2 separate regions of the Homo sapiens genome follow, and region 1 is linked to region 2. Evidence: promoter capture Hi-C in 16 types of primary human blood cells and fetal thymus (Javierre and others, 2016). All regions are on one chromosome and are shown on one strand. The core of a region is centred on a gene start or on the middle of the fragment in contact, and the rest is flanking DNA. Distances in the headings are between cores, read along the strand shown. Region 1 overlaps SLC6A15 (solute carrier family 6 member 15). Region 2 holds the start of NTS (neurotensin).

Region 1 (4,826 bases), core at 272-2,771, 1.0 Mb before region 2:
ATGCGTTATAGCCAGGAGGACTTAATCCCATATTCACAACACTAGCTATTAGCAATGATAATAGCATTAGAGGAGAAATATATTTCCACATATAGTAGTAATATCTGCTGGGAGCAAAGCCCAGCATATCTTTTAGGTCTTCCATAAACCTGAATAAAAAGAAAGTATTTAATTATTCCTTAATTTAATATTGCTAAACCTTAAAAAATGTGCATTATATTAATGGTCTGACAAACATTTACCATTGATACCCTATGACATTTTATACTGTATCAAAGTTCCTCTTGGAAGATGACTATAAAGTAAAATGAAGCCAGGTAAGTACTATAATTTTTATTTAGGGAAAGCTCTCTTAAGCCAATTACTGATTTCTCCTTCTACTGATAACTTTCTATTCTATAAACAAAATATTTTCAGTATATTAAAAATTTCTTGTCTCTTTTTTAGTAATACAAGTAATAATTACAAAAAGGAATTATTTAGAAATTATTTCTTTTAGTAATTACTGCTTAAATATTATTAAGAAATATTAAGTAATTATATATTAAGGAATTATTACTATGCTATTAATACTATTCTATCAAGGAATTATTACTTTTAGTAATAATTACTTATTAGTAAATAATTTTACTAATTACTACTTTTCCTAATAATTTTACTATTACTTTAGTAATAATTAGTAAAAGTAATAATTCCTTAATATCACAGCATTAAAAGCATAATAATAATTCCTTAATATCATCAAATATACCTAATCAATGTTATATTTTCTGAACTCTTCTTTTTACATTCCGAATTTCTAAAAAGGTCTACATATAATAACTAATTGTTATGAATTGTTATGTCTCTTGAGTCCATTCTTTCTTTCTTTTTTTTTTTTTTTTTTGAGACAGAGTCTCACCTGTTGCCCAGGCTGGAGTACAGTGGCACAATCTCGACTCACTGCAACCTCATCTTCCCAGGTTCAAGCAATTCTCCTGCCTCAGCCTCCCGAGTAGCTGGGATTACAGGCGACCACCATCACGCCCGGCTGATTTTTGTATTTTTAGTAGAGATGGCGTTTCACCATGTTGGTCAGACTGCTCTCGATCTCCTGACCTCAAGTGATCTGCCCACCTTGACCTCCCAAAGTGTTGGGATTACAGGCTTGAGCCACCACACCTGGCCCAGTCTTAATCTCTATGTTTCTCTTCCCTTTTTCATTTCTTCCAAGTTGCTCCAGAATCTTAAAGGACATCTTCAATGTAAGAATTCTACACCTGCCCTTTAGAAAAAATATGAACTTTGAAGACCAAGAGACCTCATTTCAGATCACAGTTCTGTGTTCTTTTGATGTATATCTTAATCTCTCTAAGCTTCATTTTTGGTGTTTTCCAAAAATATAATATAATACCCACCTTTGAGGGTTATTACTAGAACCATAAACAATGGATGCTTAGCATACTACCTCACATATGGTACAAAATCGACAGATGCATCTATTAGTAGTAGTATTTTTTCTTCTGTTGTTATAAATAGTGTTATTCAGGAACACTAGCATTAAAAAGAGAGATTCTTTAGTAAGTCTATCATGAATAACGAACTGTCTAAATGGAAATCTAAATTACAAATGTATTTATTTACAGATCAGTCCAAAAACAATATCAAATTCCATCATGGTACAGGTTATGAGTTTTGAGTAGCCTAGTAAAGCTTAGAGAAACCTGGCCTTGAAATGAAGGTCAAGGTTACAGTACTGGCTCTACAGCTAACATATTGTATCCTCCTGTAAAAGAAGGGGCAGTTTCCCATCTGTAAGATATGGATCATGTTAGTTAACAAGGAGTATTTTTTGATTACACACTTTATTTTTTAAGAGCAATTTTAGGTTCACAGCAAAATTGAGCTGAAAGTAGAGAGATTTCCCATATAGCTCCTACCAATATATGTGCATAACCTCCTCCATTATCAGCAACCCCCACGAGAGTGGAATGTTGGTTACAATTGATGAACCTACATAAGTTAACACATCATTATTACCTAGAGCCCACAGTTTACACTGGAATTCACTGTTTGTGTAGTACATTCTCTGGATTTGGACAAATGTATAATGACGTGTGTCCACCATTACAGTGTCATACAGAGTAGTTTCACTGCCCTAAACATTCTGTGCTCAGCGTATACATCCCTGGATCTGGCCCAACCCCTGTTAACTGCTGATGTTTTTACTGTTTCCATAGTTTTACCTTTTCCATATTATAATATAGGGGAATCTTACAATATGTAACCTTTTCATATGTGACTTTTTTCACTAAGTAATGTGCATTAAAATTTCCTCTGTGTCTTTTCATGGATTGAATAATATTTCATTGTCTGGATGTATGACAATTTATCCATTTACCTACTAAAGGATATCTTGTTTGCCTCCAAGTTTGGGCAATTATGAATATAGTTGCTATAAACACCCACGTGCAGAATTTTAAGTGGGCATAAGTTTTCAACTCCTTTGGGTAAATACCAAGTAGCATGATTGCTGGATTATACACTAAGAGCTATTACTACTATTATTATACAGTACATGATTATTAAATGTAAGTTCTCCTAAGCTTCCTGACCTGGAGCTTTTGGCAACCACAAAAAACATTCTCTAAGCTTTGTTATAAAGCTCATTCAATACCCACAATATTCTTTATGCTGCTTAAAAGGACTCTGGCCTTCACTTAAGGTGCATGCATTACTACTTTACATAGGGCTGTAATGAGCTTGGTGATCTTACTACCTCTCAGTCCATGTATGTGATTAGAGACAGTGACTATAAAAAGTATTGGACAAATCCTCCAAAGGTCTTTTTCCCTTGAGAGAACTCTGGTGCTTCACATCATTTCAAATACATACACTTTTCACATCAGTGTACCTGAATGGTGTGAAAAGTATGTGTATTTGATATGAATTTATGAATAAATAGTGAATTTATTCATTATTTATGCGTATAGTGAATTTAAGTAATGACTCTATATAAAAATAATGTTTCTGTGCAGCAAATGACATATACATCTCAGACCTGGGAAAATATCATTTCCCAATATTGTCCTGCTATATAAGGCATTATGACACATGCACTCCTCTTATAAATCAATTTAGCAATATAATTAGGAGATAAGCTTTAGAGTTAAACAGAAATGGACATGAGTCCCAGGTCTGCTGCTGTCCAGGTGGGTGACAGGCAAGTCACAGGGTGTCTCTCTAAGCTTGATTTTCCTTATCTGTGAAATGTAGATAACAATAAAGAACTCAAAAGAAACTAAGGTTCTTGGAACTCTGCCAATACTTACTAAATCCTGAAAGTTAGCTATTTGATAACCAGGACCAAATCAAAGATCTAAAATTCTACATACTATTACATCCTATATAATTCTATTTGCCCAACAGGGAAATGTAATTTACCAAAACTGTTGAATCAGTGAGAGCCTGCAAAAGGTTTGATTTTTTAAAGAATTGTTCCCTCTATTCATTTATTTCCTCTTCTAAATGAAATGAACATTGATAATTGATGTTTTCAAACTAGAGATTAAAAGTGAATACATAAAAGCAAATATACTTACTTATCTATGCCATAAACAAAGCATACAGCAATATTCTCCAAAATGACTACAATTAGCAGAGGCAGTGTAGCAGAATAATCATCAAACATTGTAACAAAGTAATTTCCAGAGCGTTGCACAAATATCAGGCCAATACAAAATGCCAGAAGACAACAGATAACTAGACAAAAGAAATAAATGAAAAAATGAGACTCTATTCAGAGACAAGGCCTTTAAACTTTATTATAAATTATTATATTCAAACTTTTAAAACTTTTATAACATGTCCATCATATAAACAGGCAATACCTTTCCTGATACATGGCATATAACCTATTAGGAATTAGGTTACCTGGGTGTAGCCTCAACATTCATACAAATTTATTCTAAGACAGTAATTCATCTCCCTGAGCCCGTGGAAACTCATTTACCAAGTACAATAATAAATGAGTCAAAGTTTAGAGAAAAATTTAAAAGTATAAATTTCCATACTCTATTCGTATAATTAATAGCAAAGTGACTTCTTCAGGCACCAAATATTTATAGGTCATTTATTCATTTAATAATGTTCTACAGTGTTGAAATATAGATGAGATTTTTGAATTAATAATGAGACTAATATTGCTTATATTATTATGAAATATACATATTATATATTTGATTGAAATATGGTTACTTTTCAAGCATAAGTGGAAAAATCTGACCAGACTTAACCTCAGCAACAATCCACATTTATATCTTTATCTTGCCTGAACAGATTAGTTTGGAAACAAATTATAATGGAGTTGAGCAATCTGATCATCCACATAACATCTAAGAAAAATCATCTAAAAAGAGTTTCCCCAGTAATAGCTAAGAAACAGATGCATAAATTTCTGACCAGCTACTACTTAGAAAAGTTTTTGAAATTCATATAATATTCCCATATTTTTGTTAGACTCTGTTCTTTTGTGCTCATTAGCAGAGAAGCCTCCAAAGGTAAAAGATGACTGCATTCCATTTCTCAACCACATTTCGGCAGAGGTGAGTAAACTTGAAAGAAGTAGAGTAGTAATGGCAGCTAAGGAAAAAAGACATCCACGGAGTCAATCATATGAACACTCCCTAACAATTTCAGCAAGTATGTGTGACATGAAGAAATTACCTCCATCTCTTAAGTACTATACTAGTGCTGTGAGTTACATCTTACAGAAATGAATGTCATATGTAAACATATAATGTAGAATAAGAAAAGTAACATTTACTTGGATTCTACTGCATATTAAA
Region 2 (4,464 bases), core at 1,686-4,185:
ACAGACCACTCTTTCTAACTGCCAATTCTTCAGGTGTCTCTGTTGATTATTTTCAGCAATTACCTAATAAAGGTCTGACATAAGTAACAGTACAAGCTTAGAAATCTACCTACTTTAGAGATGTTGTAATCAACAGGTACCTAACAGGTAACATCCACTTAAGAAGGCCAACACAGGAATATTATTAAAGGACAATGCTTAAAATCTTTATCAGATATTTTAAGAACTAGGTAACCCTTAGAAGGATCTAAGGTATGCCGGGCATGGTGGCTCACGCCTGTAATCCCAGCACTTTGGGAGGCCGAGGTGGGCGGATCATGAGGTCAAGAGATCGAGACCATCCTGGCCAACATGGTGAAACCCCGTCTCTACTAAAAATACAAGAATTAGCTGGGCCTGGTGGTGTGCCTGTAGTCCCAGCTACTCGGGGGGCTGAGGCAGGAGAGTTGCTTGAACCCAGGAGGTGGAGACTGCAGTGAGCCGAGATCACACCACTGCACTCCAGCCTGGTGACAGAGAGAAGCTCCATCTCAAAAAAAAAAAAAAAGAAAAAAGAAAAAGGATCTGGGGTAAAAAGCCTTTAAAATAAAAACAGTTCACCCATCTCCATAGCAAGGTGTCTACAATCCTGCATTAAAGGCATCATTTAGGAAGTTCGTAGGGTACTTTTTAAGTGGAAAAATACATACTTAACCTTTATCCCTACAACAAATTGTTTTATTGGTTTATGTGTAGCTTGAAGGCATTAGATTAGAGCAAGAAACAAAAAGCCTAACACATTAAAGAAAATACCAATTAGAGGTCAAAGTTTATCTACATCATAATTTTACCAAAGTTATACATCTTTTTTCCCCAAAAGAAAAGTAGCATATAGCATCTATTTGAATTTGAATTATTTGACATAACTTAATGTTTCCCCTATTCTTGAATATTTATCACATATCTCAATTTTCACATTAACAACTAATATCCATGTTATATATTTAAAATGAATTTCCATTAATTCTTCTCCCCCTTTTTTCTAATTAATTAGGGATCAATTTTGTCAACATATTGAAGAAATCATCTGAGGAAAATAAGAATCACATTTCCTTTTTACTATTAGACTGCTATCACACATTTTAAAAGATCATTCTTTGTATTTGCAATTCAAAAGCAGAGAAAACAACTAATTTAATTATCATGCAAAGTATATATAATTTTCCCGATTTGTTAATCAAAGTGGCTTTAAGAGGATTCTGTCACAAAGATGCTCTGATAGTAACAGGAAAGTAAGCACAAATCCTCACTGAGACTCTGTTAAGTGAAAACCAAGTGTTTCAAGCTTCCATTGCTCCCCCTAATGGTAGGAAAGCAGAAAACATCTAGACGTATGTATTTCACATTTGTCAACTAAATACTTTACAGAAACCTTCCTCCATGTGAGTATGTTCAATATTGTGTTTTATGTAAGTTCAGAAAACAAACTAAAAGTAATAAATATATCAGTTATTATTAAATTTCTGGTATTATATGAAAGACTCCTTGCTATTCTAAGTAATTATTAAATGTTTGGATTTAATCGCTTTGCTTAAGTTTTGGGTAAAGGTGAAAAAGTTAAACTCATAGATTGTATAATATAAATCAATTATCTATAGGAACCAATCCTATTTTTTCTCAACTGTTACTACATGATTGATTTATTTAAAAATTAAACAAGACTCAGACAACTTTACATTCAAATATTCACATCTCTAACAGCACTGACTTGTCAAATTACCCCATGTATCTTGAAATGCTTACTACAAGAAGAAAGTTTTACTCTAAAAGGCATTTTGAACAATTTTCTTTTGAGAACTCAGACAAAGAATGGGTATCAGTGTAACTCATGAAATACATGAAGACTATCATAGAAAAGTGACTTTGGTGAATGGTGGTTATTTAGGATTGTCTCCTTTCCAAAAGTACAATCTCTTTTTTTATGGTGAAAAGAGTATTATAACAGGGAAAGAAAGCCGATGCAATAGTAAAAACTGTTGAGAAGGGAATTATACAAAGAGTGAGACATGGCATCAAGAATGAATTCAAAAAGAGCAGAAAAATATAGGCATAAAAAGAGATAATGTACAGAAAAAAAGTCAGTGATACAACAACACAAATTTTTACCTGCTAGAATGTAAGTAATTTAGAGCTGGATTTTATAAACATGAAATTGTTTTTCTAATACATTCAACCAAAAGTCAGCACACATAGTTCAGTCATCTCTCATTACTTACAATAAAATATTTTCTATTTGTTAGGAAATAATATCTTATTCCCTGGATCTATTATTTCTTTTTATTGATTTTCTTTCTATTCTCTAAACTTAATTGCTTAATTTTTATAACTGATTCTCTGTCTCTATTCCATCTTATTCCAGCATGGATTATTTAAAACCTGTATTAGTTTTGGAACCACTAAACATTTGCTCAGAAGTTTGAATTACCAGAGAAGCACCCTAACTCTTCAAGAACTTCCAAGCCTAAGGAATCACTGATTTCATGCATTCATCCTGGAGATTTTCCTTAAAAATTAGAAATAACAGATCTCATGTTTCACAAAATCAAAATGACAACTTTTGGAGTGGGGGAATGAGAAGTGGGAAAAGGATGATACTGGGGGTTCTTTGTCAGTATGCTGTATGTATGCTGTATGTCAGTGCAGTTGAATGACTCCTTCTGTGCGTCAGAAATCCAAAGCAGCAGCAGCAGCAATTAGGGAAGATCGTCACTTTCACTCAAGGTTCAGAAATGGGGGAGGAGAGCAGGGGGGACAAAGGAAAAGGGGAGGAGAAAGCAGGGCAAAGAGGGGAGGGATGGAGGTGAAGATAGGGCACATCCTGCAAAGATAATGTCTGTACAATCAATGACATCATCCTCCTGCTTATATATATAGGGGAATGGCCAGAGCACCTCTCATAGTTCACTCACTTTCAAAGCCAGCTGAAGGAAAGAGGAAGTGCTAGAGAGAGCCCCCTTCAGTGTGCTTCTGACTTTTACGGACTTGGCTTGTTAGAAGGCTGAAAGATGATGGCAGGAATGAAAATCCAGCTTGTATGCATGCTACTCCTGGCTTTCAGCTCCTGGAGTCTGTGCTCAGGTAAGCAAAACAGAATTTCACAACTCCCTGAAGTGATTTCTTTTTTCTCTTTTGCAGTGTGTTGCTACTTATGTTAATGTATCTGGGGAGAAGAGTTGCTCCCTTTTATTCAGGATTTACCTTTTAGTGACAGAAACTGAGTATCTCTTTCTCTGCCTTTATGATTACTGAGAGATGTATTTTCTCTTTTAAAATCTGCAAAGCAATAAAAGGGATTTCAATGAAACACTGCACGACCTCCTTTGGAATTCAACAACTAGAGGGAAAAAAACCCTACAAAACTTTCAATTAGGCTGATCATTATCTAATGAGAAATACAGAGGCAGTGGCTGTCAACCTGCAAACCCATCATTAAATCCCATTCCATTCAAAATGTTTTACTCTCATCCTCATTCATTCTCTTAGGAAGCGGTGGCCCTCACGCCCTTGTAATAGTCCCCGTATTATTTTCTTGTTTGTGTTAAGATAACAAATAAAGTGAAAATTGATACTTAGTGAAAAATGAAGCATTATTTGTAGAAAATTATTTCTAGAAAAATACAAAAATATTCCAGATCCTTTTTGAGAACAGAATTTGCATAGTCTAATAAGTGTGCTATTAATATAACTGTTTGGCATTTTTTCCATGCCATTTAAGTTAATACAAAATACAATTGGAAAATTGGTATTCTTATATTGATGGAAATTATTTGACTTTAGAGTGTTTTGCATGTGGTTTGAAAGAAGTTATATAGTCCTAAGTATCTACGAATAACTCACTTTGAAAATAAGACTTAAATTGAAAGGTATAACATGAAATATTACAACCATTGCAAAAGGCTCTACTTAATATTTAAGAAATATTACAATGAACACTTCAAAGGGAAAAGAACACATTAGGAAGCAAATGCAGCAAAAATAATTTAACCTGTTCTGTGCTTTTATGTATCATAAATATGACATGGAAATGTTTAACTCAAACTCATGCTATCATTTGATTTAAATTATGAAATTAAAATCTAAGAAGATATAAATGTGATTTATACAAAATTTTAAATTTATTTTAATCATCAGAACATAACTTTCAGCTTCTACTTTTTAAATCTTATGAGAAAAAACAAACTTTTCTATAATTATGATTTTATCTGAAAGTTATATGAGATTAAAGATTCACATACTTCTGGAAGAAAAACTGGGTTATTGATTAAGCACTGTGTTTATTAACTTGAAACTACTTGTTGTAATAATGCAATAGTTATAAGGATTTTGGTATACATTGTTCATAAATTCCTAAAACAGATTATGTCTCTAACAAATAGTGAGAAAAGATCTCTTGTATAATTTAGGTTCTAGGTAAAATTAAGCCAA

What was found. The method cuts DNA at HindIII sites, captures the fragments that hold promoters and counts their contacts. A CHiCAGO score of 5 or more calls a contact.
Region 1: a contact is called between a fragment that was not itself captured here and the fragment with the promoter of NTS in region 2, in 2 of 17 cell types (naive B cells and total B cells). The highest score is 7.2, in naive B cells.

What each region holds. Positions count from the first base shown.
Region 1 is chr12:84,863,453-84,868,278 of GRCh38, forward strand. SLC6A15 (solute carrier family 6 member 15) reads right to left here. Exons shown (of 12, transcript NM_182767.6): 10 at 3,582-3,741; 11 at 1-149. Among named protein-coding and RNA genes, the nearest start is that of SLC6A15, 47 kb to the right of the region's middle. The HindIII fragment of the contact is 337 bases long and covers 1,354-1,690 here.
Region 2 is chr12:85,871,360-85,875,823 of GRCh38, forward strand. It overlaps NTS (neurotensin), which reads left to right and starts at 2,936. Exons shown (of 4, transcript NM_006183.5): 1 at 2,936-3,117. The coding sequence starts at 3,045. The HindIII fragment of the contact is 11,906 bases long and covers 1,323-4,464 here.